Regions from separate parts of the Homo sapiens genome. Here region 2 is linked to region 1. Evidence: promoter capture Hi-C in human tissues and cell types (Jung and others, 2019). All regions are on one chromosome and are shown on one strand. Each heading gives the region's core, a stretch centred on a gene start or on the middle of the fragment in contact. The rest is flanking DNA. Distances are from core to core; before and after follow the strand shown.

Region 1 (4,595 bases), core at 1,220-3,719:
AGAACATCTCCAATAAAGAATCTACTCTTACTGTACGAAAAGTTAGGTGTCTCCTGCACAGTAGACACACCTGACAGCAGTATCTTAAGCATACCCTGAGAATGACCCTATATGAAAAACACACTTGAATGTGTGTTTACAATTCCAAGCACGGCCAACCCTTAGACTGATTCCTTATCTATGAGGAACATCTGAGCCCCTGTCCCATCTCATGGAATGCTGACTGTACATGGGATGGAGGCCTTTTGTTTTGCAAATGAAGATTACCAGATGGAGGTTGTTAGGGGGAAGGGTGCTAAGTAAAAATGCTATTTAAACTGCATGCTTTCTGCAGGCGGCAGAGGTTCTCCCGTTCAGGCCACTGTCACTGGACCTCTCTGTAAATTACCCTAGTAAAACCCTATGTCTTGTTTACTGGCTTTGGGTCTCTTCTTCCGTCTTTCGAACCTGGTGCCATCCTTATTGAAGTTAACAGGAGTCCAGCACCACATCTTCGTATTCTGTTCAGTTTTAAAATCAAATAATCATCTTCATTATCATCATCTGTTCAGCTTCACAACCACTGGTGATGACAACAATCACCATTTATTGACGGCTTATTAGGTTCCAGGCCATGTATAGCATTTCACACACAGAATCTTACTGAATCTTTTTTTACCTCTGGAAGCAGATACTGTGATTACCCTCATTTTTATATGTGGGTATAATGAGGCTCAGTGAGGTTACATTTTGCTCCAGGTCTCAGAGCTGTTAAGTGGCAGATTTGGATACTAAAGTCTTTGACTCAATAGCTCAAGAGCTAATGCTCTATACTTAATTTTCCACTCCATGAGATTTGGACCCTAACATCAGAACGCAGAAGACCACTGCTAGTTGAGTAGAAAATATTTAAGGCAATTCACTGCTTGCCCTATTCTTGTGGAACTCCAGATCCACAGCAGAACTCAGCTGTGTAATTTACTCATGCACAGGAGGCACTGGGGAGGAAAACGGTAATTACGCTTCAAGTTGTGAATCCTAAGGGCCATCCATTCAAGCCAAGTAGGGATGGGCAGTGATGTCACCTTGTGACCATGAGTCACAGAAACACTTTCATGGCAGGACAAAAGGAAAGAAGGGCAGGAAAAGACAATGCTGGAAAAATCAAGAATCAGACATGTGGTTGCCGCTTGAGCAATTCAACAGCCCACATTCTGGCACTAGGGTTTGCCACTACAGCGACCTGGAGCTAACCAACACCTGTATCTTAATTCTCCTGAAGCAGAGGTCCTGTATTTTAGTACAGGTAGTAAGTTTGGACAGTTACTCCAAGAACTAGAATAGTTATTTTTCAGTTTTGTTTTTTTAAAACACGGATTTTCAAGGGACTGTGGTTTTAAAGGTTTAAAATGATAAAGAAATTTCTTTCTTAGAGATGCTTCTGTGGTGCTCTAGTGGAGACTGGGTGCCCGTTATGAGCTCTCTTTACCACAGTACTTTTCCTACACAGCATTTTTTCCACAATGGTTATTATGTAATTGTGTAATTATCTATTTAATGTCTGTTACCCAGGCTACACCTTAGTAGCTTCATGAAAACAAGGGCCATGTTTGCTTTTTTTTCTGCATGGGCTCCATAAGTATTTGCCAAATGAATAAATCTCGGGTGTATATGTTAACTTGTTTCCTATTATACAGGCACTTATCTGGCCCAAAGCTACTGAATTCCCACAGTGTTGCTCTAAAAAGAAAGGTATACACCGGGCAAATATGGCTCAGCCCCATTTCAATATATATCTCAATGAGCCGAACAAACCGAATAAAGGATGTAAAAGCCCTTTGTAAAGAGCAAAGCGTCATAGGAGAGCTGTAATTATGATCACTGTTACTATCATGATTATTCCGTGGACCAAGTACCCCGGCCAGGTAAGGGGAGATAACGGGGGAGGAGAGGCGGCAAAAAGGGATGAAAAGGATGGGGCGGCGAGGAAATGATGGGCAAGCAGAAAGGCGGGGAAAGCAGAAGGGGGACCAGACAAAAAGGGTGTAGGTGAGAGAAGGGGGCACTCCAGGCGGAGGCAGCCAGACCGTACCTTTTGATACACAGCCTGGACGGCAGGTAGGCCCGGTAGCCGTCGGTGATGTACGGGTTGTCCTTGAGGGACCCGGGGATCTGCTCGTAGGTGTACAGGCGGATGCCACGGGGCACCAGGACCGGCCAGTACTGGTAGCTGCCCAGCTCGATGTAATGCGCGCTCTTCAGCAGCTTCTGATGCATCGTTCCCGGCCGCCGCCGCTCCCCGGCTCGGGAGCTCCCCCAGGTCCCGCCTCCCCGGGGAGGGGGCTTCGCCGCTGGCGCCCCCGCCCCGGAGCCCGCGGACGCTGCGCGAGGTCCTACCGCGCTGCCGCTGCTGCCCAGGGCCCGGCTCTGCGCTCACACCGGCCACTGCCGCCAGCGCCGCGGCGGACCCGGCAGCGTCGCAGCCTCCTCTGACGTCAGCGCGCCGCGGCGGCCCCGCCCCTCAGCCCTAGCTGGGAGGGGCAGGGTGCTGGGGCGCGCCCGGGTGTGCTCGAGCGTGCGCTGGCGGCGGCCCGGGCTCCCGGGCGTCTCTCACGCTGTGTTTTGGCGGCGCCTGGGGTCTTCGTTTGCATATGAGAAGAGCCGAAAGCACAGAGCTACAGGCGAATACAAGTGGATTTTTTTTCTTTTTCTGTTTTTTTATTAGAAGTAATAGTTGCTGCATTTTGAAAAATCAAGAGGAAAAGAGTTAACAGGAAGAAAAGTTCGAGGTAATTACCGTTTAGTTTATGCTTGGAATTACACACACTTAGTGTCAGAAGGGACTTTGAGGATTTCTAAGCTGAAGTCAGCTCTTAGCACGATAATTGGAAAGAGAGGAAACCTGATGCACGTGGAACATACACCAGCATCGAGCACATCCTGAGCCATAAAGGAAAGCCCCCGTGCATTCAAAACTCCGACCCCTTTCAGCGTTATGTTCTCTGATCACAGTAGAATTAAACTAGAGTAACAAGAAAACTAAAAGTCTCCACGTCTGGAATAGGAGCAATACACCAAATATTTCAAGGGCTGATGAAGAAATCACAATGGAAATGAGAATATCTACTTAACTGAATAATATAGAACATATTAAAAAATCCTGTGGAGTGCGGCTATAGTAGCGTTTACAGGAAGTGTTGCAGCTTTGTTTCTGGCTATTTACTGTAATGCAAGTGTTTACTTATAATGGCAACAGGGCAAAACATCAGTTTGAGTACCGTATGTGTATAATAGAACGCTTAGTCCATTGTTTGGCATTGTAAGGGCAAGAAAAATATCTTGTCCTCACTTATCACAAGGTTCACAGCTGACATTCCTATGAAAAAAATTAAGAGAAGCCAGGCGCAGGTGGCTCATGCCTGTAATCCCAACATTTTGGAAGGCCGAGGCAGGCGGATTGCTTATGCCCAGGAGTTGGAGACCAGCCTGGGTAACATAGTGAGACGCTGTCGCTACAAAAAAAACCAACCAAACAAACAAAAAACAAAAATTAGTCGGGTGTGGTGATGGGCGCCTGTAGTCCCAAACTATTCTGGGCTGAAGTGAGAGGGTTGCTTGAGCCTGGGAGGTCGAGGCTGCAGTGAGCCATGTTTGTGCCACTGCACTCCAGTCTGGGTGACAAAGCGAGACTTTGTCTCAAAAAATAAATAATAAAAATTAACAAGAAAAGGGATAATAAATTCATTTAACACAGTTTTATGTGACAGAGGAGTCTTCAGAAATGAAGACACAAAGACCCAGGAAAAAATGGGCTTTTTATGCTAAGTCTGATGAAAGGAGTGGATAGTTGTGGAGAAACATGATTGAAAGGGGGCATCATCTAATGATAATAAACTGAGGGGGGATCCTAGCTAGCAAGGCCAGTTCATTCAAATTCTTGGCCTCAGAGTATGGGGCAGGAACTCTCTAGAATGAGGGTTTTATGACCTAGTTTCAGGTGAGGTAAGTCAGAACTCCTTTGTGACCACGGAAAGGCAGGGACAGTCAGAAAGTAACCTTACTAGATTTTTTGTTGTTGTTGTTGTTGGGGGAAGACAGAGTCTCACTCTGAAGCCCAGGCTGGAGTGCAGTGGCACAATCTCGGGTCACGCAATCTCCACCTCCCGGGTACAAGCAATTCTCCTGCCTCATCCTCCCGAGTAGCTGGGACTACAGGCACCCACCACCATGCCCGGCTAATTTTTGTACTTTTCGTAGAGATGGGGTTTCACCATGTTGGACAGGCTGCCCTTGAACTCCTGACCTCAAACAATATGCCTGCCTCAGCCTCCCAAAGTGCTGAGATTACAGGCGTGAGCCACCACGCCCGGCCCCTTACTAGGTTTTATGGCTTCCTTTAGGGAGAGAAATTCTAGGTTGTAAGACCCACTTGGGAAGAACAGGAAAAGGAAGAAAGGAGGACGGAAAGAAGTTCAGAGAGACCTTAGTTTTGAGGCCTTCCCAGTCTCCTTTAAAGTACTCAGCATGTCAAAGCACCACACTTTGGGGTGGGTGTGGTGTTCTGAACCCTGACAACATACAATAATCACTCATAATACCTATTATTATTATGCTAG
Region 2 (4,595 bases), core at 1,244-3,743, 1.1 Mb before region 1:
GGCTAACACGGTGAAACCCCGTCTCTACTAAAAATATAAAAAATTAGCCGTGCATGGTGGTGGGCGCCTGTAGTCCCAGCTACTCGGGAGGCTGAAGCAGGAGAATGGCGTGAACCTGGGAGGCGGAGCTTGCAGTGAGCCCGAGATCACACCACTGCACCCCAGCCTGGGCGAAAGAGTGAGACTTCGTCTCAAAAAAATAAAAATAAAGTCTCAGGCTAAGGAATCTCTTTATGTATTGTTATATACAAAACTGGAATCTGGATCCTACCTAATGCCATCGAGTTCTGGTGACCAGAGTGGGCAACAGGTAAGCTGTACCTGTACAGGACATTACTTTAATTAGGCTACCACTATAAGCATACTATATGGTATGTAAGCATACTATATGGTAATAGTTTCAATATAGGATGTTTAAACTCTCTTGTTAGAACAGTAGACATAAAAAAGTCCATAAATGGGGCCTGCCGTGTTGGTTCACACCTGTAATCCCAGCACTTTGGGATTGCTTGAAGCCAGGAGTTTGAGACCAGCCTGGGCAAAAAAGAAAGACACCCCACACTCCCCGCTGTCTATAAAGAAAAATAAAAATAAGTTAGCCAGGTGTGGTGGTGTGTGCCTGTAGTCCCAGCCCCTTGGGAGGCTGAGACATGAGGATCACTTGAGCCCAGCAGGTGAAGGCTGCAATGAGCTATGATCTTGTCACTGCACTCCAGCTTGGGTGTCAGAGTGAGATCCTGTCTTGAGAGGGGGAAAAAAAAGTCCACAGATGGGGGCCAACTGACCCCAGCTGTGGACTGTGGAAAGGAAACAGATATAGGGTCTAAGGACCAGCACCTCTAATCTGAGTGTTTGTTTTTCTCTGAAATTGACTGGGTAAACTTGCTCCAATTCTGGTACTTACTCTCAAATTGAATTAGTTTTTTTCATTTATGCATAGCCAAGTACACTGCTTGACACATGGCAGGCACTCATATATTTGTGAAAAGAAGGGAGGATGAGAGGGAGCGAGGGAGAGAAGGAAAAGTTTACAAAGATAGATTTAAGTTCTTCGATTTTTTTGCATAAGTCACAAATTGTTATAGAATCTTTGAAGTAACTGCTTAGGTGTTAACAAGACAAGGCAATACATTAGAAATCTTATTTTTTCATGTAGATGAGTACTATGTATAAATATGAATAAAGCATCTGGGAAATGCCTTTGATCCAGTTCATCTGCCTGTGGGCAGCTTCATTGAAGCAAGTTAATTTTGCAGGCTTGCCATTCTAATTGAGTCACTAATTCATGTATGCATATATTCATTTATTCAGCAAACATTTACTGAGAGCCTCCTATGGGCCTGGCACTGAAGTATGTGCTGAGGTTACAAAAATGAGTAAGATGGTTTCTACCCATAAAAAGCTCAGACTGGTGACAAGAACTGATATATTGTGGTGATGGCTGCACAACTCTTTGAGTACACTAAAAACCATTTAATTGTACAATTTAAATTGGTAGATTGTATGCTATGTAAATTATATCTCAAAACTGTTTAAAAGAAACACAGCCTGAGGCGAAATCTTTAAAAAGTTACCTAGGTGATGTAGGGTACGGTACACACGAAGCAGAGAAGATAGAATGAACCAAGTTATGGAGGTGAGAAACGTGTGTGTGTGTGTGTGTGTGTGTGTGTGTGTGTGTGTGTTGTGGGGGAGGTAAGCTGGGAAGTGATAAAATCCGTAATCAGATTTGTTTTAGATAAACCACACCGACAGCTGTGACGTAATGGAAAGTACACTCATTCTGTTTTGTTTTTGTTTTTTTTTCCTATCAGAATAACTTGTGCGTGGGTCTTGGAGCTGCCATTTTAAAACTAGAAATGTTTTATAAATGTCAAGTATTATTATTCAATTGATCCTAATGGTAAGTCTACTCGCTTGCCAGCAGGGGGTAAATGTAGAGATTAATTTAAGATTTTAAAGCTAAGGTTGATCTTGCGCTGACAGAAAGTTTGACAATTAGCAAAAAAAGTTTGTCAGTGAGTTGGACACCTCCCTCGGGTAGCGGCGAAAACGCCTAGAGAATTTTTAAAATAAGTCTTTCCAAGGCCGGAAAAGTGGCGGAGGAAGCTAGTGGGTTTCAGGGTTCCTGTTTTTCAAGATTTTACGTTGGGTATTAAGTACTCTCACAGCCTGTTAAAATTGTCGCTCTGAGTACACTTGCAGGATCAAAAAAGAAAAAGAATAAGAAGGAAGGATTAAAATAATCACAGCATCGCCAACAGGATCGTATTTTCCCGAAGGTGGTTAACCAGCCATACCGGAACCACGAAACACACAGGGTCCTGGGCAACACGGAGGACTAACAGTAACACCGCCACGCCGGCAGCAAAGCTCATTTTGGTCCCCGCCCCGTTCCTCTTTCTCTTTTTAACTCCTTCCCTCTTTGCGGATTCTAGAACGGAACCTTTTTTTAATTCTTCCCAGTAGAAACGTAGGAACAATTTCGTGAACGCAATCCGGAGTGCCCAACATGGCGGCGGCCGTAAGGTGCATGGGTAGAGGTAAGGCGAGGGGTTGTCTTGCAGGGGAAATGGCTCTGGCACCGAGTCTCTGGTTGCAGCAGAGTGCAAGGCGGATTCTGCTCTGGGTGCTGAAAATGCCTCGTGCTGTTTCTGGTCTCTAGGTTTTTCAGAGGGTGGGTCATTACTACTTAAAAGTGACCTTATGAAGGGTTTCACTCCATTCTGGAGACGTCCACCCTGAGGGAGGGAGTGGGAGCGGGACGTACATCGAGCGCCCTCCAGCCACCTATGGGCATGGCAAGGACTGGGTCGTCTCTGATACTGGGGTGTGGGCTGCGGGTAGTGGAGTGTGATAAGTGAGGTGAGTTCTGATAAGGGAAAGATGATGTATTTGAGTGGCTTAAGTCTGTAAATTAGAGCAATTTTCAAAGTGCTTTTTGGTGCTTTCGGAATTACTTCGTTATAGGCGATTCCAGTTCTTAAACTTCCATAGGTGGTCTAATTTGGATCAACGTTTATCATTTGAGGGGGCTAATTCTGTAGTACCTCTTGGTAGCGCCTCTTTTCATCTTAATAATTTCAACTTTTTGTCTACGATGACAGCCCTTTCTTGTGCAACAATTTTTTTTTTTTTTTTTTTTTGAGACGGCAGTCTCGCTCTGCCACCCAGGCTGGGAGTGCTGTGGTGCGATCTCAGCTCACTGCAACCTCCGTCTCCCAGGTTCAAGCGATTCTCCTGCCTCGGCCTCCCGAGTAGCAGAGACTACAGGCGTGTGCCACCATGCCTGGCTAATTTTTGTATTTGTAGTAGAGACAGGGTTTCACCATGTTGACCAGGCTAGTCTTGCACTCCTAATCGCAGGTGATCCGCCCTCCTCGGCCTCTCAAAGTGCTGGGATTACAGGCGTGAGGCACTGCGCCCGGCCTGTGCAACGCTTTTTGCTTTTATTTTGTGTTTTTGAAGTCCAGTGATATATATTGTTTAATTTAGGTAGGTCTTTAGGTAGAAGCAGTAGCCAGCATTACCCCCATTTTACAGAGGAAGAAACTGAACTTATTAGATATGTGGCCAAGTTCATATAACTAGTAAATGGCAGAGGAAGTACTGAAGCTTGCAATCCTAGGTCAGTGATACATGTATATTTAACACTGCATCACAGTTTTTTTTTTTTTTTTTTTGAGTTTCTTTTTAGGAAAACTGTGTCAAGAGAGTTATTGCTCAAAAATTAGGGGTGACAAGAGATAACAACAGACCCTGATGCCTACTTTGTGAGCAAACCAAAATGTATATTATTTCTGAAAGGAGGTTGAAGGCATCTTCATGTATGACAGAAATCGTTATGTTACACAAATCCAAAGAAACCAAAAATACCTGAATATTATAATTTTCTTGTCACATTTTCTTCTCTTGGCTTCTAGGATATCTCTCTGTTAATTGTCTTCCTATTTCATGTGTCATTTTTTCTCACATTACTTGGCTGGTTCCTCTTCCTCTCCCCAGCCTCTTTACTTTGGAGTGTTCTGGAAGCCAGGGTTCCATCCTTCATTCTCATCTCTTCTGTATCTAAATTCACTCCTTGGTTAGCTCATCCAAAGTTTGTGGCTTTGATTATTGTCTATCTTTTTTATTTTTTTAATTGTTTACTTATCAGGAGAAACTTTCACATTTCATAGTTCAAGAACACAGGTCAGTGACAAACTTTTAGGTAATTCAACCCAAAGAAATTCTTTATATTGCAAAATCACTTTGTGCTCTGAAATATACGTTTTCCTCATCTCCTCAAAATCTTTTATGGAATCATCATTTCTGTAGGAGTCGACACATGCCTTCTTTCTTGGCTCAGCCACCGCGAACATAGCGAAAACCCCCAGGGATACAATGAATGCTTCAACAATATGAAATTGCAAATGTTTTGCCAGAAGGCCCCACATCGGAGGTTCATTAAAGCACTGGAAGCCACGGTAGCTACTGTTCTTTTTAGGTATTAGCCTCAATACCAGCATTCTTCCTGGCTGTTGGAGAAATGGATGGCCAATTATTGTGTATATCTTTTTTTTTTTTTTTTTTGAGAAGGAATCTTGCTCTGTCAC

Evidence for each region. Contacts are between HindIII fragments. The study calls those that stand out against the background at their distance.
Region 2: the fragment with the promoter of MRPL1 here is called in contact with the fragment with the promoter of PAQR3 in region 1 in 1 of the 25 tissues and cell types used here (small bowel).

Annotation. Positions count from the first base shown.
Region 1 is chr4:78,936,969-78,941,563 of GRCh38, forward strand. It overlaps PAQR3 (progestin and adipoQ receptor family member 3), which reads right to left and starts at 2,470. Exons shown (of 6, transcript NM_001040202.2): 1 at 2,072-2,470. The coding sequence starts at 2,256. RefSeq lists silencers at 2,000-2,069, 2,160-2,649. The HindIII fragment of the contact is 22,278 bases long and covers 1-4,595 here.
Region 2 is chr4:77,860,337-77,864,931 of GRCh38, forward strand. It overlaps MRPL1 (mitochondrial ribosomal protein L1), which reads left to right and starts at 2,494. Exons shown (of 9, transcript NM_020236.4): 1 at 2,494-2,543. The coding sequence starts at 2,513. RefSeq lists a silencer at 482-697 and enhancers at 2,182-2,581, 2,942-3,041. The HindIII fragment of the contact is 8,859 bases long and covers 1-4,595 here.